Regions from separate parts of the Homo sapiens genome. Here regions 1, 2, 3, 5 and 6 are each linked to region 4. The links are contacts of gene promoters, found by promoter capture Hi-C in human tissues and cell types (Jung and others, 2019). All regions are on one chromosome and are shown on one strand. Each heading gives the region's core, a stretch centred on a gene start or on the middle of the fragment in contact. The rest is flanking DNA. Distances are from core to core; before and after follow the strand shown. Region 1 overlaps CACNA2D4 (calcium voltage-gated channel auxiliary subunit alpha2delta 4). Region 2 overlaps ADIPOR2 (adiponectin receptor 2). Region 3 overlaps ADIPOR2 (adiponectin receptor 2). Region 4 holds the start of FKBP4 (FKBP prolyl isomerase 4). Region 5 holds the start of MIR3649 (microRNA 3649). Region 6 overlaps ERC1 (ELKS/RAB6-interacting/CAST family member 1).

Region 1 (4,448 bases), core at 1,222-3,721, 1.0 Mb after region 4:
AAACTGGCTCTGCGCTCCCCCGCTTATGACCGTGGGCAAGTGACTTCGCCTCCTCTAGTCTCCATTCTCTCATCTGCAAAATGGGCACAACACCAGCCTCATACAGAGCCGTGAAGGCTGAGAGTATACACGGCTGTGGTGTGCACGTTGGGTGTGTGAGACCGCCCATCCCAGGGGAGGCGCTCGGTAGGCGGCCGCTGGGACTGCTGGGAAGGCCGTGGGCCTGGCGGGCGGGCTCCGCCCCACTCCGCGCCACTCCTCGCAGGGCGGCCTCGCCGAGCGCGGGGCCACTGCGCCACCTGGTGGCCAAGCTCCAGCGCTGCCGCTTCGCCCGGGCCTGCCCCCGCCACCCTCACCCAGAGCAAGTGTTGCCTCGCCCGCCCATTTGCTCCGGACGGTCTTGATTTACGCCTGTCGTCCCTGCATATATTAATAGCAACTCTGCACTCTCCAAAGCGGCCCAGTTTGGACTTCCTCACTGTCTCCAGTCTGCTAGGAAAGGAAATGCAGCAGCAAAGGCTTGTGAGCAAAGCCAGTAGGACTGAGCCATCTGCCAGGCCCGTTCCCTTAGCTGCCCCGACCCGCCCTGCCTCATGGTTCCGGGCTTCCCTGCCACCCTAACTCCACACTAAAGTCTCCAGAAGTTCCTTCCCTAGAAGCCCTTCTCGTGGTCGCCACGGAGCCATCCTCGACTCCCTTTCTTTGCTGCAGGGTATTTGTGGTGCAGCAGATTCCCAACAGTAACCTCCTCCTCCTGGTGACAGACCCCACCTGTGACTGCAGCATCTTCCCACCAGTGCTGCAGGAGGCGACAGAAGTCAAATATATCCTGCAATGCTCGGGGATGTGTGCGGTGGGGGCGGGGGCTGTAGGAGGTGTCTGTAGGGCTCAGATTTTGAGCAGCGGGGCCAGCCTCCTTCACCGCCCGTGTCCTCCACAGGGCTCCGTTATTTGTTCTCTAACCCTTCCCTGGGCCCCGGTGCTGCCTCCTGACCCTAAAGCTGCTTGCAGGGCAACTGGTGGCACCAGAGCAGGTTCTTCCAGACCTTTTTCCAGTCTGCAGAATGGGCTCCGGTCCTGAGATATTGACCTTAACAGTGGCTTCTGCACATAATGCCTCTGTCAAATGTGACCGGATGCGCTCCCAGAAGCTCCGCCGGCGACCAGACTCCTGCCACGCCTTCCATCCAGAGGTGCGGGTTGAGGCGGATCGAGGGTGGGCTGGATTTTCATCCCCAAACCCTCTGTGCCTGGGTCTGTGCCCCTGCAGACAGGAGCATATAGGGATGCCAATGAACACACCTGTGCCTGTGCTTCTCGGGGGAAACATTCGCGTTTATGCCCTGTGACACTGTGATATAATAAGAAACAGATCTTTATTTAGTCTTTGTCCTGATTCCTGGCAAGCTCCTAAAACGCTTGTTATTTCCTGATTAGGGTGATAGGTGCATCTTTTGTTATAGTGTTTGGTCTTAGTCCCTGGTTCCTTCACAGGTGCCTCTAAGACCCTTGGAATGATAGAGGTATCTTTGTATGCTAATTAGATGACTGGTGGCTGGGGGCCCTAGACAGGATGAGAGCTGGCCACAGGAAACACCAAGTTAGGATTAGAGGGTTGGGACTTTTGGCTCCAAGCCCCTGGCTTCTGGGAAAGGAAGGGGGCTGGAGACTGAGTTGATCACCAGTGGCCAAAGATTTAATCAATGATCATAATGAGGCCTCCATAAAATCCCCGAGCCACTGTGTTTGGAGAGTGTCCGAATTGGTGAAAGGGTGTGGGAGCTCTGCGTACCCCGTGCCTTGGCCTACGTGTCTCTTCCACTCAGCCGCCTGACCTGCGTCCTTTATAATAAACGGGTCATGGTGAGGGAAGCACCTTCCTGAGTTGAGTGAGCCACGCTAACAACTCACGGAGCCTGAGACAGGCTCATGGGAACCCTAGATTTACAGCCAGTCTGTCAGAAGGACAGGAGACCTGGGGCTTGCGATTGGCATCTGAAGTGACGGCCACCTTGTGGGACCGAGCCCTGTAACTTGCGAGCTCTAATGCTAACTCTCAATAGTGTCAGACTTGAATTGAGTTTCAGGACAGACACCCAGTTGGTGTCCAGAGAGTGGGGTGGGAAAAACCCTTCACATTTGTTGAAGTGCTGGTGTGAAAGCACAGCAGAGCCCCTGTGTCATTAAAATACGAAGTCAACCAGGATCCCAAGGTGCTTTAACGAAGAGCCACGCTTCCTAGGGCTTGGGCCCTAGGTGAATTAGAATGCAGTTTTCCCATCTTGTCCTCATTCCCGCTACACTTAGTTCCGAATGATCGAGCAATGTGAGGGGGCCGTCACGTGGATAATAGTCATAGTGGCTGGTACGGATCCAGAACCCAGACCCAGGTGTCAGGCCCTGAGCCGGGTGCTTCATACAGTCTGGTCTGCTGGGACCAGAAACCCCCATCAGAGATGCTCCCAGAGTTGAGGACATTCTGAGAGGATGACCTCGCAGCCACTCCAAGCCTGAGGGCAAGCAGAGAAGGCCGGTGCCCCCCTCCCAGGCTGAGGGGCCAGCCTTTGCTTTTCCCCCAAAAGGTAGGGGCCTAAGAGAGGTAGCAGTGCTTCCCCGGCTTTCCAAAACTCCCCTTTCCCCAGGATTTTGGCCCAAATTAGTGGTGGAAGCCCCTCCCTTTTTGAGGGTCCTCCTCTGAGCGCCGCGCTGTCACCTCTGCTCTGCGTTCGCAGGAGAATGCCCAGGACTGCGGCGGCGCCTCGGACACCTCAGCCTCGCCGCCCCTACTCCTGCTGCCTGTGTGTGCCTGGGGGCTACTGCCCCAACTCCTGCGGTGACACCACCCAGCCTGACCTGTGTTTTGGCAAGGTGATCCTTCCAGAGCCATCCCAAAAAGTCAGCACTGACATGGGATGCAGCTAACTGCAGTTGGGTCGCCCCCAGGCCAACGCTCCTCTCAATCCTGGGCTGGTGGCCCCTGGCTCCGGAGAATGCTGGATGGAACAGGAAACCAATCACCTGGCACCACTTTCAAGATGCTTCATGGTGCCCGGTACCATCTGCCCTAGGTCTCAACATGAGCATACTTCTGACCTAACCTTCCTGTCTCCTCTTCGGGAAGCCAGCGTGAGCTCAGCTTGGACCAAGACAAAATAATTTAGTTCTTCCTGTACTCCAGAGTCCAGACCCAGCCAAGAAAGGGTCAGTTGTTTCTGACCCTTTCTGTCGGAGTGGTCTCTGGTAGAACCCAAGGACTTCTGGGTACTGAGAAGCAGCAGCAGAATGAGGCCAAATGCAGAGATGAGGCTAAGGCAAGAATATGCCCCAACTAAAGCATAGATTCCCCAAAGTGAGGCTCATGGTGGGAGGCCACTCACCTTCCTAGCTGCTGCTCGAAAAGGTTTTGACTGTGTTGGGGTGGGGGTTGGGTAAGGGAATGGTCAAGACTGAGAAAGGAATGAAATCCATTCAGGAAATATCGACAGGGCTACACGTGATGTCCCCAAACTGCTGCTATTGAAGAACTTCCCAAAACTTCTTTACAAAGCCCTAAAGGAAAGTTTGCATCTATGAAAAGCCAATAGGCTGAGACATCCAATTGCTGCATGGAAATTGATGTACATTCAGGGGACGGCAAAAATAGCTGTAAAATAGTGAAAAAGAGCAGTGGTTGTGCTCTTTTCTGGCCAATGATTTACAAAAGAATCTACTTGACTCTGTCCCTGGAGTGAAATCCTTAGGGTTGGAACTTGTGGGAACATTCCAACTTGCTAAGCAGGGTCCACTGGGAGGGAAGCTCTATCTGGGAACTCACCCCCAGCGCACACACATCTCCCCCAGGGTCCCAAGGCCCCGCAGCTTCCTCCCCCGACCAAACCCCAAGACCTGGATCCCAGGAGACAACAGTCTCCACAGTGAGAGCAACATTAAGGGCAAAGCCATGGAGAAATGTGGGAGAGGCCGGCCTCAAATCTTTCCATTTAACAAACCCCAGTGATGGGTATGGACAGCATGCAGGGCTTTTGGGGCGCTTCCCCCCGCTCCTCCATCACCCTCAGCCTCCACACTTCAAAGTTCAAGTTCAAAGCTGTTCAAGTTTCCTACCAGCAAATAGCCCTAACTTGCCTCTAGAGTAGGCCAAATGCCAACTCTGTAAAACACACTTACATTATCGGTTACAGAATGTCACTCTTACCGTCATGTCTTGCAACAACCCTGTGAGGGCAGTATTAATGCCCCCTTACAGCAGAAGACACTGCAGCTCGAAGACAGCTTAAGTGGCAGAATAATGCTAGAACAGCTAAGGTTTACATGTACCAAATAACATGTTTCAGCTCATTCCATCCTCACAACAGCCCCCTGAAAGTGGGTACTATCATTAGTCCCATGTTATAGAAACTGCAGCAGAGTTGAAAATTGCCTCCAAATTACCGGAAGAGTGTATGAAG
Region 2 (4,732 bases), core at 1,658-4,157, 1.0 Mb after region 4:
TGCTTCTTCTGACTTCTGTTTCTTCTGACTACTTCTTCTGACTTCTTTAGCACTTAAGTCTGTGCCTCTCATTTGACAGTAATATCTGATTACAGCTCTTTTACTGACTAATACTGTTTTATTTAACGTTTAATAGAATTTTACATTTTTAGCGTATCATTTCCTAAACTAGATTTTTAAGTGTCTGTCTTCTTCCCCATGGCTTCTGGAACATACTTACATGATGGCTAAATTAATAAATGCTCTAGGAGACTTTCAACAATAAGTTAATGAGGGCTGTGCCTAATTAAACACGAAATTAAAATGACAAAATTCCATTAAAATTATATAAAACCTGAAAACGGGCAATAGCTTGAAATGATTATAGCAGACCGATTTTAAAATATAAAATTATGTTATATAAAATAGCTCAGATATTTGCACATATTCAACATGTATTTGATTCTCCAAAGAAACAGAAACAAAGAGTCTTTATTCTCATACAAATTACTGTCAGCCATTTCAAAACTACAGATATGTACATAAAACACAATATGGCTAATGTATACTACCATTAAGTAAACATGATGAAACTGCACTCCGAATCAATGTGACTCAGTAAGTAATCAGTGAGATTACTCACAATCAGTAATTCTGATTATCAGGCTAAGTGCAACTGGTTACATATAAGACTACTGATAGCGGCCAAGACAGGAGGATGGCTTGAGCCCAGGAGCTCGAGACCAGCCTGGGCAACATGGTAAAACCCCATCTCTACAAAAAATATAAAAATTAGCCAGGAGTGGTGTTGCGTGCCTGTCTGCAGTCCCAGCTACTCAAGAGGCTGAGGGGGAGGACTCCTTGAGCCCCAGGAGGTCGAGGTTGCAATGAGCTGTGATCTTGCCATTGCATTCCAGCCTGGGCAACAGAGCTACACCCTGTCTCAAAAAAAAAAAAAAATTACTTTAGTAAAGATAAATATTTCCATCCATCCCAATATATCAGCAAGATTCAGAATCTTTATAAAAGAATTATTTCCGGCCAGGCACAGTGTCGCACATCTGTAATCCCAGCACTTTGGGAGGCCAACGTGGGTGCACCACCTGAGGTCAGGAGGTCGAGACCAGCCTGGCCAACGTGGTGAAACCCTGTCTCTACTACAAATACAAGAATCAGCCAGGTGAGGTGGCGAGCGCCTGTAATCCCAGATACTCAGCAGGCTTGAGACAGGAGAATCGCTTGAACCCAGGAGGTGGGGGTTGCAGTGAGCCGAGATCGTGCCATTGCACTCCAGCCTGGGCAACAAGAGAAACAAACAAAAACAAAAATATTTCCTTCAGAAGGGCAAAGTATTAATAAATCTGTTGATTTATCAAGTACTATGACCAATTCCTACCCTTGTATAAAGGAATATTCACAAATATGTTCTCAAAGGATAAATTAAAATACTAGACCATAATTAACTATTTATTGTGTTCAAGTATTAACGGAGTTGCTAATGCGGTATCCACGTGGTGTGGGTGGTGGTAAATGCAGTTCCCTGGGTTAGAGAGAGGATAAAGTAGGAATACAGTGGCAGAGTTAAACACTGGCTAAAACAGGATAAAAAAATACTTTCCCTAGGGTATACCATATGTCACATACTGATGGCTTGGAAAGACTATGCTAGACGCTATATTTAAAATAGTCTCTGTCTTCCAATATTAAGTCCAAATAACTATTTTATTATGAGTGAAATTACTATTTCTAATTTCCATCCAACAGCCACCAAACCACAGTACCCAAAGATACCTCTCTGAACAATAAATTGTATCTATATTCAATGATCACATACATGCTATGTTCTGCTTCTGTTGTCATACTCCTTACCACACCCTCAACAAAATTATGACAAGAAACATGACATTGTGACAGATTAAACAAAACCAAAGCTGCCAAGAATAAAGGCATAAAACTTAATTCTCCAGGTTTTTCTATGAATAACTATATTTAAACTTGTAGAGGTCAATGCTTTGAAATGAGCACAAAGACATTTTGAAATATCTCCCCCCTCCCGCCATCTGTTTTCAGTAAAGTCCATCTGTGAGAACTTTGCTGACTGTATTTCAAAACATAGTAACATTTGACTTTGATGATCTGTCCAAACTGCAATCTAAAATGAGAATTTTCCAGAGTACACTTTACCTTTGGAAAGACAGAGAACCATAGTGATAAAGATAAAAGGTCTTTAAGATCAGTCTAATATGAAAATAATTCACAAACCTATTGGGTATTTATTGGTTTTGGCCTAACTCAATTCAACAGAGTAATTCAGTTTAACAAATATTTATTAGATGATTAAAAATAAGATGAATAAAACATAGTCTCTGTCTTCCATGGACTTACAATCTAATAAAGTGCTAAATTAGCCAAATAAATGACTTCATAGAAAAAAAGGTATAGCTAGTTCAAAGATAAACATGATGAGGCTCAGGAAAGCCTGCATGAAGAATAAAAATTTTGCAAAGATGAGATAAAGGAAAATAACCAAGAGGGAAAAGCAAAAGTGCCATGTTGAGAAAAAGAGACTAGTTCATCTAGAGCTTCGGGGGCATTTAGGAAAGTAGCAAAACATAAATGAGGTATTTAAATGTTAGTGGAAGTACAAGAAGTGCCACAAAGACTCACAATCATGATACTATCTACCATCCACAATTAGATGAAAAAGGTCAAGAAATGGTACAATATCCAGGGCTGGAGACAGTAAACCTTTGATTAAAATCTGTCTGCCTTTATAAATGTCATTGAGAACTGAGACCTTCTGCATTCACACAGCTTAATTATAAGGACTAAGATCTAAGGCCCCTATATCAACAGAACTTTATTATTTGTTCTCGGAAATTCTTGCCCAGGAAGGTAAGAATGCAAACCAGTAAATAACTTCATCATTAGCTTTAGGAATTTCTCAAAAATTCATTTAACTGAACAACAGACTGCTCAATTAGATCCTTAATCATTGCTCAACTGGGCAAACATGCTCACTTACCAAACAAATATTTGTTTATCAAGACTTGGTCTAAGAATTCTATCACAAACTCAGAACAGGGCCAAGTAAAATCTCCTTAAACTACTTGAAACCAGACCCCAAAACCCTGTAAATATCCATATCCAATACTTTCTTTCTGAAATACTTCTAGGACTCTTTAGGGCAGTGTTCACCCTTACTGGAGTATGTAATAAACCTGGCTTAGTTTGATCAACAGGTGATTTTTATGGTCTTTTTACAAGTTGACAGGTTGAAGCCAGCCTTAACTTTAGAAATTGGAAATGTGTAGCAAGGGCATTAGCAAGCTGATATTACTAACAAATGAAAACAAAGAGGTTTGTGGAAACAAAGGTATCTACAAAAAAAAATGATAGCTGAAGAATAAGTATTGATGGATGTATACCCAGTATTCTCCAAAAGAATAACTATAATATCTAGTCTATATGAATATTCATTTTGGCCTGCCTAGAAATATATATACTCTGACTTCCATCAAAGCTTAATGGAAAAGATCTTTAAAATCACTCAGTTTTTTAAAAATTCTCAAATAGCAATTCTATCTTTTTTTTTTTTTTTTTTTTTTTTTGACGAAGTCTTGCTCTTGTCCTCCAGGCTGGAGTGTGATGGCGCAATCTTGGCTCACTGCAACCTCTGCCTCCTGGGTTCAAGCGATTCTCCTGCCTCAGCCTCCCGAGTAGCTGGGATTATAGGCGCCTGCCACCACGCCCGGCTAATTATTTATATTTTTAGTAGAGACGGGGTTTCACCATGTTGGCCAGGCTGGTCTCGAACTCCTGACCTCAGGTGATCCACCCGCCTCAGCTTCCCGAAGTGCTGGGATTACGGGCGTGAGCCACCACACCCGGCCTCTAATCTTAATTGAATTTCTTAAGCAGGCTTCTCCATGAAAATAAAATGAAGTGATTGACAAGAGTCTATTTACAAGTTAGTTTTCTTACAATAAACTATTATATAGTGGCATTCTTGATTTTGGTTAAAGTAAACCAGTTTAACAGAATATGAAGGTTGAATGAATAAAAGTTCCTTATCTCCCAATTTATAAAGAAGAATCTGGAGCAGAAGAAAAGTAGGACAACCATAAAGGCTGATCTCTTTATTCAACCTAATATCTTGAAAGCTCAGAAAGGGAGCAGGGAGGCAGAGGGGAGCCATAAAAATAAAGATCAGGACAACCTGGTTTGAAATGCCTCTCTTATATTTTTGTCCAAAAGCTTACAGAATGCCTCCTAACTATATACTTTAGCAAATATAGTTAAAAGAGTCCAGGCTTTAGGGTCAGAGGCCTAGGGGCAATGGTCTAATCATTTCAACCAGTACACAACATTACACAAAATTTGAAACTGATATAAATTGCAAAAAGAAATTTGAATGATGGCATAATACTGGACCAGGAGGCTAAAGACCTAGATTTCAGGCCCCAGGTGTCTTGTCTTACTTACTACCACATCCTCCACCCCACTATACACCTTGACCTTTCATTCCAGCTATGCTAGAAATTTTTCAGGTTCAGACATCAGTATGTGCCAGTGTGTACTCAATAAACATTAGCTATTATTATTACTATTCCCTACAGGCATCGTATTACATCTGCTTCTGAATCTTCACATCTGCTGTTCCCTTTGTCTAAAATGTCCTTTAGTCCTTTCTTAGCTAAATCCATTTGCAACTGGAGTTACTACCATAGTAATCTGTGCATAAAACCACACA
Region 3 (4,907 bases), core at 2,384-4,883, 1.1 Mb after region 4:
TTCCTCAAGAGCTAAAAGATCTACTTTCCTACAATTATACTGTACTGTCTTGAATCAAAATCATCTAATAACATTTTACAAAGCTTTGATCTTGCTGAGAAGTATCATATCCATCCATCAAGTTTGCTAGAGCTCTTTTTTGAACTTCCAAGTTGCCATAATAAGCTTTTGAGACTTTACATACTCATGTTGTGACTGATAGCAAGAATATAACTGTAAAACACAAGAATAAAGTGGATATAGTACTGCAGAATTTCATATACATCGTGTTAAGAGACAGCAATGTAACTGCAGCCAAGATATCTTTGGATGTGATGACTGAACTCTACAAGAAACATCCGGACTGATGCCAAAACTGTCAATGTCATCACAACTGCATGTTTTGAGATATTGGTTGCCACCTTGACATTCTTCCTAGGATAAGATGAAGAAGAGAAACAAATAGGACAGACTCAGAATCTGAGGATAAAGTGACAAGAGACCTACAAGTGCAGTATGTCACTGGGAAGAGTGGCTCCAAACACAAAACACTGAAAAGGTTATGAAAAGTGCCCAGGAAACAAAAGAAGAAAAAACTCACAGTGTTTAACTTTTAAGCTATTAGCTTTATTCATGATCCTCAAAGTTTTACCAAAACACTCCTGAAGCACACAGCTAGAAATCTCTAAGCAGAGGTTTGAGTTAACATGATGCTCATAAATCTTATCTCCAGATTGGCAGAAATTCATAAGCCCTCTAACTTCTATGCCTTTGGGCAAAAGTTTCTGCTGCTGCACCACAGAGAAGTAACAGAAATCACTGTTTGCTAAACATGCATTTCATCACCTGTTAGTCCCAGAGATCACTCAGTTATTGCTCATGACTGTGACCATCCATTATGTTATGGACAAGAACTTTAGGGAAGACATGACAGTCCAAATCAGTGCTATAAGAGGTAATAGCTCAATGTCCCCTAGCCATGACAGAAGAACTTCCTCAAGACCTGTCCCAGTATAAAACACACAAGGATAAGAATATGATGCTGTCTACTATAACTGTGATTCAGTTCTTCCAAATCCTCAGATGATGCAGAATTCCAGGGTAAGCTGACAGAGGCCCCAGTAAAATCAACAGTGCAAGAATATGGCCAGGGACAATGGCTCCTGCCTGTTAAATCCAGCTATTCAAGAGGCTGAGGGAGGAGGATCGCTCGAGGCCAGGAGTTCAAGACCAGCCTGGACAACATGGCAAAACCCTGTTTCTACAAAAAATACAAACATTAGCCAGGCATGGTGGTGCATGCCTGTAATCCCGGCTACTTGGGAAGCTGAAGTGGGAGGATCACTTGAGCCCATGAAGCGGAGGTTGCAGTAAGCTACGATTGCACCACTGCACTCCAGTCTGGGCAACAGAGTAAGACGCTGTAACCAAAAAAAAAAAAAAGAAGGAAAAAAGAAAAGAGAAAGAAAAAGAGAAGGCTGAAAATGATAAAGATGGGTGGGGAAGCACCAGTCTCAGTGAGGAGGAGGGTGCTGCTGGTGAATCTGTTGACAAGTAGAAACTGCAAGAAATCTCCTAGAAGCTGAACAGCACCCATGGAGGAGTGAAAAGCCAAACTAAACGATGACTTCTAGAAAATCTGCATGGCTCAACTAAGGAAAAAATTCAGTGCTGCCCCCAGGGAAAGCCCAAGAGGAAATGTATTGAAATAGTGATAAGGAGCAAGTAATTTTTTCTAACATTGATGACAGTCATAAAAAGCCAAAGTCTGACAAGGAGACATGACTAGCAACTGCAATGGCTGGACAGACCAAAAAGAATTTATGAGGAAGAAAACCAAAATGAATCATTTTCCAAATCCAGAGATAAAGAGAAAAAAGAAGAACTTTGATGATTAGGTATAGCCAGAATGTCCCGTCAAAAAAAATAAGCATTCCTTTGGGGAAAAGCTGCTGCCACTATGAGATACACTTAAAAAAAAAAATAGAAAAATAAAAAGAGAGAAAAAGTAACATCCAAGCCAGCCTTCCATTCCCAAAATAAATTGTCATTAATCTGAAAATTAGTAAATCAAGAATGTTTACATTAGAAAGTCCAAAAGCACTATATCCTGAAAACCACCAAAAAAGGTGAATGACTGCTGAATGACGGGTTTCGTCATTTTTTTTTTTTTTTTTTGAGATGGAGTTTTGCTCCTGTTGCCCAGGCTAGAGCGCAGTGGTGCAATCTCGGTTCACTGCAACCTCCACCTCCCAGTTTCAAGCGATTCTCCTGCCTCAGCCTCCTGAGTAGTTGGGATTACAGGCGCGCGCCACCATACCCAGATAATTTTTTTTTTAATATATTTTTGGTAGAGAGGGGGTTTCATTCATGTTGGCCAGGCTGGTCCCGAACTCCTGACCTCAGGTGATCCACCTGCCTTGGCCTCCCAAAGTGCAAGGATTACCGACGTTAGCCACCACCCTCAGCCCACTTTTTTTTTTTTTTAAGAGACAGAGTCATGCTGTGTTGCCCAGACTGGTCAGAGTCATGCTGTGTTGCCCAGACTGGTCTCAAACTCCTAGCCTCAAGCAATCCTCCCACCTCAACCTCCCAAGTAGCTGGAACTACAGGCGCAAGCCACCACTGGGCTTGATCCCATTTTTGTAAAAAATAACTCTCGGCCAAGTGCAGTGGCTCATGTCTGTAACCCTAACACTTTGGGAGGCTAAGGTGGGAGGATCGCTTGAGCCCGGGAGGTCGAGGCTGCAGAGCCATGACGGCACCAGTGCACTCCAGCCTGAGATACAGAGTGAGATCTTAAAAAAACAAAACAAAAAAAAAAAAAAAACTGCAACACAAAGAATAAGCCCTATGTAAACTATAGACCAATAAATAACAACATATTGATATGGGCTCATCAAATGCAATAAATGTGCCAAATTAATGCAAGATGTTTGCAATAGGAGAAACGAGGGAAGGGAAGGGAATATGGGAACTTTCTGTGCTATCGGCTCAAATTTCTGTACATCTAAAGCTGCTAAAAAAAAGTGTAATTTTTAAATTCTGAATATGCAGACAAATCTGCAAATAATTACTTGTATATGCACACAAAGAGAGGTGAAAAGACCTATATCAAACTGTTGCCCCTGGTTATCTACAAAGGATGAAAACTGGAAACTAGCGCATGAGAAGGAATTTTTTTACATTATACAGTTGGCCCTCCATATCCATGGGCTCTTATGTCTGTGGATTCAACCAAGCTTGGATCCAAAAAGTTTAATATAGCATCTGTATTTGAAACATGCAGACTTTTTTTTCTTGTCTTTATTCCCCAAACAATACAGTATAACAACTATTTACATAGCATTTATATTCTATTAGGTATTATAAGTAATCTAGAAATGATATAAAGTATTTGGGAGGATATGCACAGGTTATATGCAAATACTATGCCATTTATATCAGAGATTTGAGCATCTGTGCATCTTGATATTCACCAAAGGTCCTAGAAGCAGTCCCTACAGACACCAAGGGATGACAGTATATCTCTGGACTGTCTAAACTTTCTACACTGAGCAATAATGTAAGTAGAGGCTCTGTAGCATATTGTTAAGAATTTGGGTTTCTCAAATCAGACTGCATGAAATCAAATCCTAGCTCCACCATTTGCTAGCTGATAAACTTCCAACAGTTACTTAATTTTTCTCCTTGCCTTAGTTTCCTCACCTGTAAAACAGAAATCATAGTATACACTCACAGAGCTGCCACAGCAATTAAATAATTTCATACACGTAAAGTAGTGGAAATTGTCTAGTACATAGTAAGTGCTCAATAAATGTTAACCAGCATCTTCATTACCAAGCATTTATTATTCCTGGATTTTCTTTTTAAATCTTGACTGGTAAGACTAATCATGAAAACCCGGTTCATAAGCCCCTTTCTAGAAAGACCTCCAATGCAGAAAATACAAAAGCAATCAAAATCCAAATACAAATAATGAAATACTTCTTAAAAAAGCAGATTACAGGGCTGGGCACGGTTGCTCACACCTGTAATCCCAGCACTTTGAGGGGTGAGGCAGGTGGATCACATGAGGAGTTCGAGACCAGCCTGGCCAACATGGTGAAACCCCGTCTCTACTAAAAATACAAAAAAAAAATTGGCCGGGCTTGGTGGCGCACACCTGTAATCCCAGCTACTAGGGAGGCTGAGGCAGGAGAATTGCTTGAACCCAGGAGGCAGAGGTTGCAGTGAGCCAAGATCGTGCCATTGCACTCCAGCCTGGGCAACAAGAACGAAACTCCGTCTCAAAAAACAAAATGAACAAAAAAAAAAAAAAGCAGATTACAAACCAACATTTATCAATTTGAGTTCATTTATATAAAAAATAATCACCAACAAATTCTATAATCACAGAAAAAAAGCCCCAAGTGGTGTACTTGTAAATAACTTTTACTTTCTCCTTTACAATTTTCTGACTCATTTAAATTTTCAACATTGACTATGTATCATTTTTAATGGAGCTCGGCAAACTTTTTATATTAAGGTCCACATAGTAAATAAATATAAGGTGTTACAGGCCACATGGCTCTCTGGCACAACTACTCAACTCTGCTGCTGTACCCCAAAAGAAACTACAGACAATACCTAAACGACTGCATATGGCTATGTTCTAATAAAAACTTTTTTCTTCCTCTTTTTTTTAAGACGGAGTTTCGCTCTTGTTGTCCAGACTGGAGTGCAATGGTGCAATCTTGGCTCACTGCAACCTCTACCTCCCGGGTTTAAACGATTCTCCTGCCTCAGCCTCCCGGGCAGCTGGGATAACAAGAGTGCGCCACCACACCCGGCTAATTTTTGTAGTTTTAATAGGGACGGGGTTTCACCATGTTGGCCAAGCTGGTCTCAAACTCCTGATCTCAGGTTATCTGCCCGCCTCGACCTCC
Region 4 (5,005 bases), core at 2,301-4,800:
TAGAGGTGGGCAGACTACATAGATTTCAGTTAAGCTGAGGAGAGCAATCTATTTGCTACCTGCTCTACTAACACGGACATATCAGGACGCGTCCCAGATAATCCTAATTCACACTACCTGATAAGCCCAACCTGGTAGGTATTAGAAATGATTACCCAACATCTCTCAGCAGTTTCTCAGTATTCAAGGGCCCACGGATTGGCTCAACCATTTTCAGATTGAACAATGTCAAGTTCTATCTCCTCAGTGAAGCCTTTTCTCAGCCCTTGACCCACAGGGGAGCTACTGCTCCCTCTTCTGGTCTCTAGAGCACCAATATTCTGTACTGCCATTTATAACGGGACATAGTTTCTGACATCCCGACTCCTTTCAGTATTCTTCTGGGTACCGCTCTGGAGATAAAGATGCCTTAACCCTGACCATGCTTTGAGTCTGGAGAGGGGCTTGTGCCTGCCTCTTCCCACCCGAAGCTTCTATTACTTCCATTACTAGCAGCAGCAGAGCCCTCTGCATTTCTCCTCCCATAAGGCCAGACCCTCAGCCTTGGCTACATTGTCTCCAAGAAGCAGGAAGGGCTGGAGGGCAGCCAGGCATTGGGCTGAGATAAGGCCTGGCTCTTAGCCTGGATCTCAGTGACCAAACACTCACCTCAAATACAAGCGTGGCATTGGGGGGAATCTTTGGAGGACTGCCTGCTGAACCGTAGGCATATTCTGGTTTGCAGGTGATGTGGCACACCTCCCCCACCTTCATGGTGGCTATGGCAATGTCCCAAGCCTTGATGACCTCCCCTGCAGGTACAGAAGCAAACAGGACCGCCTTAGCAGGGTTCTGATTCTGGGCTCAAACAGTGCTCCTGAAGAGTTACTGCACCACACTCATGGGGAAGCTGGACATCCTTTAGAAATGGGACCAGAAGGTGAGGTACCTGGTTGTATTAAGTGCTACCAGGTCTAAGAACTGTAAAAGATCACGTGACCCTGAACAAAAGAGTTTAAGATGCAAGACAGTCCACCTTTGAAGGGGGAGTAAGGTGTTGGGAGGTGATGAGGAGAAGGGGAGACAGAGATCAATATAGTTACAGAACGGTAGAAAAAAAAAAAAAAGAGTGACCGAAAGAGTTAACAGACTGTGATAAACCATTCCTCCCTGAGCTTGGTCCTGAGAAAATGGTTTCTGCTTGTGACAGCTTGTGTCCACCTCGAACCTATCCTACCAGCCCACTGACCACGCCTACCTTTTCCCAGGTCAAAGGAGAATTTGTCCTTGCGATCCAGACTGGAGTCAAACTTTGTGCCATCTAATAGCCAGCCAGTGTAGTGGACAAAGACTCGGTCCCCAATCATGGGCATCTCTGTACCTGTGCCCTCTCTCTTGATGACCTGGGAGGAAGGGGGAGAAAGTGAGTACCCCAGGGTTTGGGGCAGAAAGGGGCACCAGCACTGCCTGCAAGCCTCCAGAGGGAACATAAAGGGACTTCTCTGTGTTCATCCTCCTCTGCCTACTTGTCCCTCCAGATTCAGTTACTAGCAGCTTGGCTTATGAGTCAACTAACCTTCTTGTCTTTCTTGAGGTGCAGCAAGACTTGGTTTGAAAAAGGAGACAAAAGGCTGAGAGATCTGAGTTCAAGTTTCCGCTGTATGGTAAGTTTTTAAAATTCTCCACACTTTATTTGTAAAGCAGTGATGATAATCCCTATCTCCTACAGTTGTTGGAAGATTAGACCAGTAAAAGGTTGAATAATAGATTATTATTATAATCGGCAAAGGGGGAAGTATTTATGCCACACTTCCTCCTTCTTCCTTCATGCCAGTGGTCGTCAGACTAAGGTCTGGTTTGGAGACAGGAGAGCGAGAGGAGTATGAGTGAAGAGAATAGAAACAGTTCAAAACAGGTAAGGAAGAAACCAGGTTATAGGTGAACCCGGAGGCTCTCCATGGGACCTTAAACTCTGACTTGGGAGCTGAGTATTCCTCTGGTAGTTAGTCCAGGGCTGGAGTATTTCCCAGAAACGTAAAGGCTTCTTTAGCGCCACCTGGTAGGTGTGTGGTTACCCTCCAAGGGAAAGCTTCCACGAAGAATAGACAGGGGCTTTGAGGAGTAGAAAGGTAAAAGGGAAGGAATGATGGATCAAAGGGGAAATGAGCTTTCCTGGAATAACAATCTCGTAGAAAACGGCAGGACGCTGGAGCGAGAAGGGGAAGTCACATGCCACAGGAGAGCCGCTGGAGCAGACGCTTGAGGTCCCCAATAATCTGGTGCAAAGACAGATGCACTTCTGGACCAGGTAAAGGCCCCCTGAGGTGGGTGCCGCACACGCGGAGCTCAGCGGTGGGAAGCCAGGATGAGGACGCAGCAGCGGATGGGGAGAAGGCATAAGACGCAGGCTGGGAATTCACCATCTCTGATTCTCCCTGGAACCTGCTCCGACCCAAGGCAGGTTGTCCTGGCCCAGGTCAAGATGCCCTCCCCGCAGCTCCCCAGGCTATTTGTAGTCGAGCGGTCACTCGGCGGCAGGCTCCACAGCAGAGCGCCTCCTCCCCGCCCCACACCCCGCAGCCCTGGCTCCGGGAGGCGGCGGAGGGGGGAGGGGACTACAGCTCCCGGCATGCCCCGCGCCCGGCCTCCCCGGGGCCGAGGGAGGGGGCGCCGCGCGGCGAGTGGGGACCTCGCTGGGTCCCGGCGTCGGCAGGGGACCCCGGGAGGGCGCCGGAACCCTGTCGCGCCTGCGTCGCACAAAGGCCGAAGGGCCAGGAAAGCACTGTGGGGAGTCGCTCCCCGTCCTGGCCCGTGTTCCACCGCCCGGGTGGGCGAGCCCTGGCACCGCCACCAACGAGGCGGCCCGCGGCTGGCAGCTCCGCTGGGGCCGCGAGGTCGGGGGCGGCGTGGCGTGGGAGGCCCGGCCTGGCCCCGGGCTGCGGCTCGGGTGCCCGCGGCGGTCGCCTCGCCCCGCCCCTCTCCGCCGCCCCGCGCGCGCCGGGGTGGGCACTGCAATCCCGACCCCCTGCCCGGGCCCGGGCGCTGCCGGCTGGGGAGCCTGGGGCCTCGGCCCGCGCACCTAGGCCGCCCCCCTGCCGAGCGCATGGCCGGCCTCGGTGCCTTAAACGACGCAGCCCGGTCCGGGACGGCGATGCCACCGGCCCCCGGCGGGACGGCCGCGAGGCTGCAAAGGCGGCCGCCTCGACCCGTGCCCGGCCGCGGGCTCCGGGCGCGGCGGAAGGGCGGCCCGCGGGGCCCCGGGTTCCGACGCCTCCGCAGGCCCCGCCGCCCCTCACCTTCAGCACGCCTTCGTCCTGTTTGGGGCTGATGTCCACTCCCTCCATGGGCAGCGGCGCCGACTGCGCCCCGCTCTCGGTCGCCTTCATCTCCTCGGCTGTCATCTCCGCGCGGCGCGCCGTTTATCCGGGAGCTGGTGCCGGCGCGAGCGCACTCTGGGCCGCGGGCGGGGGCGCTACCTGCGGGGCGTGCGGGAGGCCGGGCGCGGCGGCACTGACTGCGGACCGCGAGGAGGCTTGAGCACCTCTGCACGCGGCGCGAGAGCTGGGGTAGGTGGGTCAGGAGCGGCTCGGGGAGCGATTGGTCCCGCCCCGCCGCGAGGGAGGGGCTGGGAGGAGCGGGAGCGCAGACAGAGGGGGCGGGGTGCAGAACTTTCTAGAGACGGCGGGACTGAGCCGGTTCGGGCTCAGTGCTGCGGGCGCTTCGGAATTTTTTTTTCTTTTTTTTTTTTTGGTTCTTGCCTCCTTCTGGCTGCCTGCCCCCTCCCCCTTCTCCTGGGACCCTCGGACTCGGGATCTCCCCGGCGGCCTCCCTTGGCCCTTCCTCCCTCCCTCCCATCCCCGCCCGCTTCCCTGTCTAACCGGATTCTTCCAGATTCTTCTCGATCGATCTCCCGACATCACTCCACCAGTCCGCTGCGCCTGCGGCGGGGTGTGGGGAGCGCAGGCTGCGGGATGGCAGTGGCGGCGCCCCCTCCCCGGGACCGGCCGTCACCACGGGCGGCGTGGCCTCTCTGCTATGACCCGCGTAGACCCTTCCCTACTTGGGGGAAAGAGGGCAAGGGCGTGCGCGGGGAGCGGGGAGTGAGTGGACAGCGCTGCCCCGCTGCAGAGAGCCGGGGAAAGCGACCTCGATTTCCCCAGATCCGAGAAGCCCCGGCCAGGCAGCGATGCCTCGCTCAGCGCCTGCAGATGCTGCGAGCAGCGGGGTTGGCAAGGCATGGCCCGCCCAGCTCGGAACTCAGATGGGGCACACACTCAGGGGACCCTTCCCGGCGGTAATAAAACTGCCGTTTCCGCGAATGCTTACAAAGATGGGTTCCCCTCACGAAAAAAGTCACTCGGTTTTCCTAAAGGCCCACAGAAGGAGTATTTTCTTCTCAATGTTTGCTTCCCGAGTGTTTTTCGACAGGCTGTGGAGCGCGCAGGTGCCGGTGTCACCTAAGCTATGGTCGTGGGACCTAGAGAGCCATCTAGAGAGGGGCCTGGTTTTGCTCAGCACCTAACCCCAGTTTAGCATAGTGCCTGGTGAGTGATGTCCCAATAGTTACTGGCTGCATGAATTTTCCTTTTTTAAATTTCTTTTTCCAAGTCTTGGCTGATTTTTTTTTCTTTTTTTTTTTTTTTTGAGACAGGGTCTTGCTCTGTCGCCCAGGCTGCAGTGCGGTGGTGCGATCTTGGCTCTCTGTAGCCGGGACTACAGGCGTCCGCCACCACGCCGACTAATTTTTGTATTTTTAGTAGAGACGGGGTTTCGCCATGTTGCCCAGGCTGGTCTCGAACATCTGGTCTCAAATGATCCGCCCGCCTCGGCCTCCCAAAGTTCTCGGATTACAGGCGTGAGCCACTGCGCCCAGCCTGAATTTTTATTCCAATAATAACTGTATTTTTGGACTTCCCGTTATGTGCCCGGCACTGTGCGATTGGACGCCATTAGTCTCATCAAACTAAATTGAAAGCTTTTTAGAGATGAACTTTCAGCGTCATAATGTGATGATTTATTGTAGTCC
Region 5 (4,948 bases), core at 2,134-4,633, 1.1 Mb after region 4:
TCAAATGTTTGCTGCACTGCTAACAGAGTCCATGCTGTGCTTGGTGCGGACAATTCTGTAGCGAACAGTGCGACAGATAACTGGTGCTGCCTTCAGCAAGCCTACAATCTAGCAGGCAGCCTGCAGTGAATCGGCCACTACATAACTCAGCACCCTCTTCCAGAGGCCATCTCTCTCTCCAGTGGCCCCAACTGTAGCCGCTCTCGAGCCTCCGCCATCAAACTGTGTCCTTAAGAAAATCATTGTTTTCTCCCCACCAGAGGAGAGAGCCGCTAAGTGCTCTGACCCCCTTGCTTCCAGCACGTTCATACGAATTGGGATTTGGTGGCCTCACACGCATAGGCTCACGATCCTCACAGGGGACAGGGAAGACGCCACGATCTGCATTTTACCGACAGGAGGCGCAGGAACTTGCCGGAGATCGCAGAGCAGGTTCGTGCCCAGGTGGTGGGAAGCGACTCTCAGGCTGGGAGAGACACTGAAGGCCGCCCCGTCCAGCCAGTTGTTTTCCCCGGGGCTCCTGCTTCTGGACGGCCTTCCCAGACAGGAGGGCAGGCTGGGGCGGCCCTGCCTCCCAAGGGCCGCGCTGAGTGCCCAGTGCACCCCTTCACTCCGCACTCTGCCCCAGCGGACCCCCGGCTGCCTCATGTTCGCGGGCAGGTGCGCTGCGGGGCGGGGCACGGAAGAGCGGGCAGCCCCTCCCGGTTAGAGGCCCTCCTCCCGGCCAGGGCCTGGGCGATGCGCGATAAGAAAGGCAGGGTCCCCGTCCTTGCAGCTGGTGGGTGAGGGGCTAACCGAGCTTCAGGAAGCGCTGCTTGTGCCCTGAGGGAATCTCGCGGAGGGCGAGCGGAGCACACACCGAGTCCTCTCTCCCGACAGCGGACCTCTCAGGAGGGAGGCGGGAAGTGAGGAGGGGGAGGCGGGAAGTGAGGAGGGGGAGGCGGGAAGTGGGGAGGGGGAGGCGGGAAGTGAGGAGGGGGAGGCGGGAAGTGAGGAGGGGGAGGCGGGAAGTGAGGAGGGGGAGGCGGGAAGTGGGGAGGAGGAGGCGGGAAGTGAGGGGGAGGCGGGAAGTGGGGAGGGGGAGGCGGGAAGTGAGGGGGGAGGCGGGAAGTGGGGAGGGGGAGGCGGGAAGTGGGGAGGGGGAGGCGGGAAGTGGGGAGGGGGAGGCGGGAAGTGAGGAGGGGGAGGCGGGAAGTGAGGAGGGGGAGGCGGGAAGTGGGGAGGGGGAGGCGGGAAGTGGGGAGGGGGAGGCGGGAAGTGAGGGGGGAGGCGGGAAGTGGGGAGGGGGAGGCGGGAAGTGAGGGGGGAGGCGGGAAGTGGGGAGGGGGAGGCGAAGGGGCGGCGGAACCTCCGGAGGCGCAGCTCAGGCAGAGCAGGCCGCGGCCACAGAGGGCTGGGGCTGGGGGCGACAGGAAGTCCGGGAGGGGAGAGGAAGACAGCGGTGGGGCCGCGAGGCCGGGAATCAGGAATCTGGGCAGGGGCAAATTGGCCCAAGTCTGCAGTGTTCTTTAGCCAGCTCTGCAGTGGGAGAAAACAGGAGAGGGCTGGACAGCGGGCGGTGCAGCGGGGGAAGGGCGAGAGGATGCACGTGTGACTCGCTCTGCGCCCGCGGAGGTGCCCGTCCGCTGGCATGGCCCGCGGGGTGGGGAGTCGCTGCATACGGCCCCTGAAGGCAGCTCCCGGCGAGGGAGGCGGAGCCATTTCCCGAGGGCGGAGCTGCGGCCCCGCCCCCCGCCTCCCGCCGCCTCCCGCCTCCCCCCGCCCCCCGCCCCCCGCCGCCTCCCGCCTCCTCCCTGCCCCGCTCCGAGTCCGCCGCGAGGCCTTCGAGGGGAGAGGGAACTCGAGGCTGCTGCTGGGGCGGGGTTGGGGTGACTGGCAGTGGGAGAGCCAGGCAGGGGAGGGGCGAAGAGGAAGTCAGGGAGGGCACATAGCTCCGGGAGGGCCGTGCTGAGGCGGAGGGCGCAGCAAGGGTGGGGGTCGCAGTGGGCTGCAGGGGGATCGCTGAGCACGGAGGCTTCAGGTCCCGAAGGAGCGGTGGCGCGGTGACAGGGGCCCGGGCGCGGCTCAGCTCGCTGGCGGATGAGGGGCTGGGAGGAAGACGTCCATGCGCCCCGAACCTCAGTGCTTTGCAGAAGGGCCCCAGGGTGGGCGGAGGACAGGGACCAAAATGCAGAGAGGATGGTCCGGCTGGAGAGACGGGTGGGCGGAGGACAGGGACCAAAATGCAGAGAGGATGGTCCGGCTGGAGAGACGGGTGGGCGGAGGACAGGGACCAAAATGCAGAGAGGATGGTCCGGCTGGAGAGACGGGTGGGCGGAGGACAGGGACCAAAATGCAGAGAGGATGGTCCGGCTGGAGAGACGGGTGGGCGGAGGACAGGGACCAAAATGCAGAGAGGATGGTCCGGCTGGAGAGACGGGTGGGCGGAGGACAGGGACCAAAATGCAGAGAGGATGGTCCGGCTGGAGAGACGGGTGGGCGGAGGACAGGGACCAAAATGCAGAGAGGATGGTCCGGCTGGAGAGACGGGTGGGCGGAGGACAGGGACCAAAATGCAGAGAGGATGGTCCGGCTGGAGAGACGGGTGGGCGGAGGGCTGCAACAGTGGGGTGTGAAGACCCTGAGAGCAGCACCTCCCGCCCGCATGGGGCTGCCAGGAGGCGAAGAGCCTTTACCCAGAGGGTTTTCAACTGAATGACACTGTCAAAGAAAAGCCAGGATCCACTAAGGCAAGAAGTATTAAAAGTATTTTAGGGAAAGTCATTTAAAGCTCTATAACATTGTATTTTCATGGAATCTTCTAGATTCTTCCCCTAGAATCAGAGTTAGATTTTCCATTAAGTGAATGAAGCTCAAGTTTCAGGGCCTCTCCCTCGCCTTCTAAGGCCCTGTTCATAATTCCGTATTTGTAATTATTTAAACTGCCCCACCCTGATTATATAACTTTTAGGTCCCACAAAAGCTTAGCCAGTCTCTGCCTTAGAACTCCACGAGTTGGGAGGATGAACGAACTTCCACGTTTTGATTTCCAAACAATTTCCCTACCCTTGCATTGTTAAAAGATAAACAGGAATAAGTGTTCTGGCTGTGAGTGAATTTTTTTTCTTAACATGTTTTGGCCTGGATACTATCTGAAGGTGTTACCCAAGCAGTGGGGTGACTTTGCTGACGACACAGTTACTCAATACTCCCCAGCTCAGGGTGAAGGTTAGGTGGCACGTTGGCGGGACATGTGACTCACATGCGCAGGTGTGTTCCTTGGGAGGAAGGCTTGGAACAGGCACCTGTGTGTGCCCAAGTGTTTCTAGCAAACACAGGGACCTGAGTGTCTAAGCACAGGCCCACTTTACAGGGGTCTCCTGAGAACTCCTCCCCCTCCTGAGAACTGTGCCTTCCCAGCCAGAAGTCACTCATACAGAATGTTCCCAACTTATGAATGGGCATTGTTCTCAGAAAGAGAATTTGTAAGTCAGTTGTTTAGAACGGGAAGGCATCTCCCCAGATAAACAAGTGTATGTGTGATCTTTGTTATTCAGGAAAGCCTAAAAGAACATCTTGTGTCCCAGAAATCAAGGACTGTACAATGGGAACAGAAAACTCCAGCTGGTGGAATCATGTGGCCCTCAGAAAATGCCTTCCAACTTCTAGCCTGAGATCCTGGGAATCTTCTCCACTGTCACAGACCTTCTGTGAGAAGGGGGGACGCTTCCCAGCTCCACGTCCCTGATGTGGCTGCCATGTCCTGGGGCAGAGGCCAGTGAGGAGAAGCAGCTGGGTGTAGGCGGCCAGGCCCTGGGGGCTAGAGGGGGCAGAGTCCATTCCCAGAGCTCCTTTCAGAGTCCGCTCCCTGTCCATGTCCTCTGAGGGCCCAGGGGTGGGCCTCCTTGCCTTTGCCTTCTTGAAGTTTCCTTGGCCGGGAGCAGTGGCTCACGCCTGTAATCCCAGCACTTTGGGAGGCCGAGGCTGGTGGATCACTTGAGGTCAGGAGATAAGGACCAGCCTGGCCAGCATGGTGAAACCTCGTCTCTACTAAAAAAAAATACAAAAATTAGCCGGGTGTGGTGGCGCGTGCCTGTAATTCCAGCTACTCAGGAAGCTGAGGCAGGAAAATCGCTTGAGCCTGGGAGGCAGAGGTTGCCGTGAGCTGAGATCACGCCACTGCACTCCAGCCTGGGTGACAGAGTGAGACCCTGTCTCAAAAAAAAAAAAAAAAAAAAGTTTCCTAAGTCTTTGATTCTTAGGACAAAGTGGTAAACAGACTGGGGATTTAAAAAAAAAAAAAAAAGACTCCCATGTGATGGCGGGGTGGAAGGTGGAATGCTCACTTTTCAGGTACTGGCCTTCTCAGGAAAGACCAAGACCAACATAGAGAAGGATGGTGGATTTCTGGGTATACAAAAGACCAAACAAATCCAGATCATCAAGGTTAGACCCCTTGCATTTGTGGTTGGCTTCAGTTGAGATGATTCCCAAGAGCTTACATAATAAACTTTACTTTTTTAAAAAGCATATTTTCATTGATCTTGCCATGATATAAGCAAGCTATATCTTATACACTTATCTATATCTATGTAAGATATACCATTACCCTTTTCTTTTTTAATACAGGGTCTTGCTCTGTCACCCAGTCTGGAGTACAGTGGCTCGATCCTAGCTCACTGCAACCTCAAACTTCTGGGCCCAAGTAATCCTGCTACCTCAGCCTCCCAAAGTGCTGGGATTACAGGCATGAGCCACCATGCCCAGCCTCAATATTTTAAAAGTTTATATTTTACAAAAGGCTTTCACATCCATATGATTTAATTTGAGGTAGAGAGAGTATTATTTCTGTTTTATTGCTGAGGAAACTGCCTGAATCACTTAACTAGTTGGTTGGGAAGCCAGGTCCTCTGTACTGAATCTTGTGCCCTTGCTGTTTTTAGAGGCTGATTAATCCCTGAAAGGGAGA
Region 6 (4,568 bases), core at 2,042-4,541, 1.4 Mb after region 4:
TGGCTAATTTTTTTGTCGTTTTAGTAGAGACGGGGTTTCACCGTGGTCTCAATCTCCTGACCTCGTGATCTGCCCGCCCCGGCCTCCCAAAGTGCTGGGATTACAGGCATGAGCCACCATGCCTGGCAATGCTTTTTATAATCACATAAATACAGCATATTTTCTCCTGCTTGAAGAACAGCTAAGCAAGCAGAGAAAGTGATCTTCAAGAATCCAAGCACTTTACACACACACACACACACACACACACACACACACACACACACGTGTGTTCTCTCTAAAGGAAAAAAAAAAAAGAACTTTAGATCACAAGAATAAAAGTTCTTTTTGATATTTAAATTGAGACAGGGTCTCCTCTGTCGCCCAGGCTGGAGTGCAGTAGCACAATCATAGCTCACTGCAGCCTTGACCACCTGGGCTCAAGCGATCTTCCCATCTCAGCTTCCTAAGGCCTGGGACTACAGATGTGCACCACCACGCCCAGCTAATTTTTAAAATTTTTGTTGTGTAGAGATGAGGTTTCCCCACGTTGCTCAGGCTCGTCACTAACTCCTGGGCTCAAGTGATCCTCTTGCCTTTCAGTTTCCCAAAGTGTTGGGATTACAGGCGTAAGCCACCACACCCAGCCAAAGTTCTTAAAGCTAGATGTTCTGAGGGAATTTTATCTTTTCTTTTTACAAAATCATGGTCCATACATGGTAAGAAAAGAATATAACTGAGTCAAAACATAAACCAACTATACACCTGTGTGTACATACAGTGAAGTATCTTTAAATAAACCCAGAGGATATAAAGGCATTTTTAGATTCTTACTGAACCATTCAGATTGAAAGCAAATGATATAAGGCCAAACTCTCCAATACCATTTTTTTCTCCTATACTCTGACTATTCATTATAAAAGGATTTCTCTGTATATATGTATCTGTACAAACATACGTGGTTACATTGTTAAAATTTTCCCACAGCTACTATTGCACTCTTGATTTTCTCTATTCTCTAAAGTTTCTTTTTTGTACAACTGAGCTAAATGGCTTTCAGTCTTTTCTGTAGAAGAAAAAAACAGAAAACCACCATTTATTAAAATCAGGCTTTTCTAAAAAAAGTTGTTAATTATAGAAAAGTATCTTAAATTATCTATCTCTTCATAGTTGTTGAAATATTTCCACTTATAATTTTATAAATCCAAATATTTGAAAAACTTTGATTTCCAGAAATATACAAGTATCAGGTATAGATTGATTCTGATAAGAAATGAATACCCATTAAGGACCACTTAAAATGAATTGGAAGCTGAATAAAGTAATGATACTAGACATCAAAGCTCAACTGCTGCCAGAGGTATGGTTTTCCAAAACAGGTAAATATGTGACTTGGGCTAAGGGATGAGGTAGTAATGAAAATTATAACTTAAAAAAATCGGTTATCTGCATGTAAGCATTAAAATTCAACCTACTGATTACTTAGATATCTAAGCCCAGAACATACATTTTATTTTCCTAAAGAGAAAAGGTAGTTTGCTTAAGTCTTCCTTCAAAAATAAATCCCCACCCTTGAGGCCTGATCACTCATGAGATCTGATCAAATTCCTCATCTCCCACTATCAATATGTCATCTCTCTGGCTTGTCTTCAGCAACTCCTGTTGAGTAGGTCTGGCAAGAATCCCCCAGCCATGACGTTTCTTCTTAGTAATTTTCCATCACTGACCCCCACCCTGCTCCTTCGCTACACATCTCCATTGGTCCTTGTGTATTCTGAGTTGAGCCCAATCTCTGCCCTCTAACACAAATCCTCATCTCAGTGGTCCCCTGAATAGTCTGCCTTACTGTCTTTAAGAAGTATCAGGAATATTTTTTTTTCTCCAGCACACTAAGTATAAAAGTACAACAAGAACTATACACACAGACAAACACTAAAAAGGCAGAGAGAAGGCAGACCAGTCAGGAGTGCTGTGACCTGCAGCTCCCTGGATCTTTCTGCCTTATATATCCAGAGGTAGAGCTGAAGAAGCCAACAACCAGGAAATGCCAACAGGCACAGACCAAAAAAGCTTCAACAGGAGCCCACTCTCTCTAGCCAAAGAAGCCTCCAAAGGAAAGGGACAGCCTAGCAACATAGAAACCTGTGGGACAACAATCACTCTATTCCAAAGACCATGTGGTCCCACTGTCACTCATGTCAGTAAAGACCAAGCGGCGGGCCCCATGCTCACCAGGTTGTGAGGAGGTGCTTCAGCCTCTCCTTGCTCCACTGGAAGGTGTCAGGGAAAGCCGAGGGAGGCAGGGCTATAATCTCCAACCATCAGCAATGAAGTCTCCCCTCCACAGTGTCACTAGAGACTAGGTGAGGATTCTAGAATTCCACCTCCATGGAGCAGTAACAGCCGTGTCTCCTGGTGGAGTCGGACCTTCACTACCGCACAGCAGTAACCAGGCCCCCCTTCCTTCACCCCCACTGTGTTAGTGGAGGCCTTCCTACCCTAACCAGGCAGGGATACACCAGTGAAGCCTAGTGGGGACATGAATACCCATCTCCACCTAGGAGTAACAAGAAGCCTCCACCCCTTGAGTGTCAGCAGGGTCCAAGTGGGAGAAACTGGACTTCTACCTCCACTGGGCAATACTGAGGCAGCACCCCATTCTTCCCCTGCTGGAGTGGTGTCAAAGAAAACCAGCTAAAACAGAAGTCTAAGTAAGACCCAGAGTCATATCGCATAACATCCAACATGTCCAGGTTTCAACTGAGAATCACTCAACATCCCAAGAACCAGGAAGACCTCAAACTGAATGAATAAAAGACAATTATGATTAAAGGCACAGCAGCGAACTGAAACATTCATCTTGCCAATAGGATTAGGTAATTAGGCAGCAACTGATCAGCTACCATAGCTGGACTACTGCTGGGCACCAGAAGTCAGAAACAGCTCTTAGAAGACATGCCAACATAGCTGCTCCCTCCCTCATCAAACTTGTCAGTAAGGCTTCATTAATTTCCTCTCCATTCCTGGAGTGGGATGGTTGAATCAGAGTGCGACTGTGTGTGTCTGGAAGTGACCTCAACTTAATCAGACCTCAACTCAATCAACTAGGAAACTTCTAGGGCAGGGCAACCTATTCCAGTCCCAGTTCTTGTAGTAATTTGACCATAGTGAATCCACAACTGGGTTCATTTAATACTCCAAAATTCATGGTTTGACCACAGTTTTATTTTGGTGGTGACTAAACTAACCCCACCTCCGGGAGATGAACTGACAGTACCTTTGGGCATCCTAAGCATGCTCTGGTAAGTACTTTTGACTTTCCTTCCAGTTTTTAGGTTCAGAAAAATTCATTCTTTGTCCCATGTTTCACCTTCCCATTTAGATTAATAGTAGTAAATGTTAATTTTATTAACTCAGTAATGTATCAATTTAGTAATTTTTACTTTTATCAATTTGAAAAATTAAACTTTATTATTTTTTAAATGTATTGATTTATTAATCAATATTAATAGACAGTTGGTATTTACTGTATCCTTGATTTTTTTAAAATTTTAATTTATGTCACTGTGGGTTACACTGTCCTAGAAATATATGGAGCCATACTGGCTAGTGATCAGTTCTAAATATATCAAGAGACAGGTTTATCGCTAAACAGGCTGACTTATCCCTGTTTAGATGTTTGTTATAAGCTAATCACTAATCATAACATACCAGTGTTTACTACTATAATTAGAAGGAAATAATCTACCAAAGAAAATAAAAATTTTAATAAAATGTCTACTGGTATTTTGAAGTATAATTTACCACCCAAATATACAAAGGTCACTTCCAGACACACACAGCCCCGCTATGATTCAACCATCCCACCCCATGAGTGGAGAGGAAATTAATGAAGCCTTAACGACAAGTTTGATTAGTTCATGAAATAAGTGTGTAACTTAAAATGGAGAGATTAACCTACTCAAGGGTTTTTTTGTTGTTGTTTCTTTAAAGGCACTACATATTTTTGCTTAGAGACTGAATGCAAAACAGATTTTTTAATGTAAGGTGCTTTTAAGGAAAATAGGCAAAATACCCGGGAATTAATAGGATTTGGACAGAATTCTTTTCTTGAGGGAGTGCTTTTCAAGACTACATTTATGTTAACTCTTTGGAGTATTCATGTAGCATTATCCTCATTTCCAGGAACAGAGCTTTATTAATTTATATATCAAATCAGCAAAATGGCTATGGGGTATATAAGATCACAATCACCTGTGATATATTGTGCCATAAATGCTTAAAGCATTTTCAACACATGTAAGACATGAAAAAAAGGTCTTAAAAACCCTAGAACTGCATAAAAACTCCTAGCAATGCATATCCAGTAGAGCCAATTCTGAAATCCATTACCAACAGGCTTACAGAGGGCATATGCTCATTGAACTATAATCTGTAAGGATGAAAAGAATGGCCTGTGTTAATATTTTAGTATGTGTCAGAAAACAGTAAAAAGTAAGTATAACTTGCCTATATTCTCTCTTAAGCAAGCTATTCCATTTTCATGGGTTTAAGTAGTATTTCTGTTCTGATGACTCCAAAATTATCAT

What was found. Contacts are between HindIII fragments. The study calls those that stand out against the background at their distance.
Region 1: a contact is called between a fragment that was not itself captured here and the fragment with the promoter of FKBP4 in region 4, in 2 of the 25 tissues and cell types used here (IMR-90 fibroblasts and hippocampus).
Region 2: a contact is called between a fragment that was not itself captured here and the fragment with the promoter of FKBP4 in region 4, in 1 of the 25 tissues and cell types used here (pancreas).
Region 3: a contact is called between a fragment that was not itself captured here and the fragment with the promoter of FKBP4 in region 4, in 1 of the 25 tissues and cell types used here (dorsolateral prefrontal cortex).
Region 5: a contact is called between a fragment that was not itself captured here and the fragment with the promoter of FKBP4 in region 4, in 1 of the 25 tissues and cell types used here (dorsolateral prefrontal cortex).
Region 6: a contact is called between a fragment that was not itself captured here and the fragment with the promoter of FKBP4 in region 4, in 1 of the 25 tissues and cell types used here (small bowel).

Annotation. Positions count from the first base shown.
Region 1 is chr12:1,792,044-1,796,491 of GRCh38, reverse strand. CACNA2D4 (calcium voltage-gated channel auxiliary subunit alpha2delta 4) reads left to right here. Exons shown (of 38, transcript NM_172364.5): 36 at 712-824; 37 at 1,111-1,193; 38 at 2,733-4,448. The coding sequence ends at 2,837. Among named protein-coding and RNA genes, the nearest start is that of LRTM2, 26 kb to the left of the region's middle. RefSeq lists enhancers at 1-266, 378-945 and a silencer at 88-417. The HindIII fragment of the contact is 9,636 bases long and covers 1-4,448 here.
Region 2 is chr12:1,766,128-1,770,859 of GRCh38, reverse strand. All of the region lies in intron 2 of ADIPOR2 (adiponectin receptor 2), which reads right to left. Among named protein-coding and RNA genes, the nearest start is that of LRTM2, 52 kb to the left of the region's middle. RefSeq lists an enhancer at 4,463-4,732. The HindIII fragment of the contact is 6,690 bases long and covers 1-4,732 here.
Region 3 is chr12:1,692,914-1,697,820 of GRCh38, reverse strand. All of the region lies in intron 1 of ADIPOR2 (adiponectin receptor 2), which reads right to left. It also overlaps the pseudogene LOC100533654. Among named protein-coding and RNA genes, the nearest start is that of ADIPOR2, 4.3 kb to the right of the region's middle. The HindIII fragment of the contact is 3,880 bases long and covers 1,694-4,907 here.
Region 4 is chr12:2,793,515-2,798,519 of GRCh38, reverse strand. FKBP4 (FKBP prolyl isomerase 4) reads right to left here and starts at 3,550. Exons shown (of 10, transcript NM_002014.4): 1 at 3,276-3,550; 2 at 1,238-1,382; 3 at 649-791. The coding sequence starts at 3,380. ITFG2-AS1 (ITFG2 antisense RNA 1) reads left to right here. Exons shown (of 4, transcript NR_146317.1): 2 at 1,574-1,643. RefSeq lists enhancers at 888-2,087, 3,581-4,125, 4,126-4,671 and silencers at 2,502-2,911, 3,262-3,321, 3,352-3,731. The HindIII fragment of the contact is 5,309 bases long and covers 1,270-5,005 here.
Region 5 is chr12:1,658,702-1,663,649 of GRCh38, reverse strand. MIR3649 (microRNA 3649) reads left to right here and starts at 3,270; the gene lies at 3,270-3,335. RefSeq lists silencers at 1,497-1,586, 1,677-1,776. The HindIII fragment of the contact is 8,592 bases long and covers 1-4,948 here.
Region 6 is chr12:1,389,306-1,393,873 of GRCh38, reverse strand. The region is part of intron 16 of ERC1 (ELKS/RAB6-interacting/CAST family member 1); the gene reads right to left. Among named protein-coding and RNA genes, the nearest start is that of LINC00942, 110 kb to the left of the region's middle. The HindIII fragment of the contact is 7,264 bases long and covers 1-4,568 here.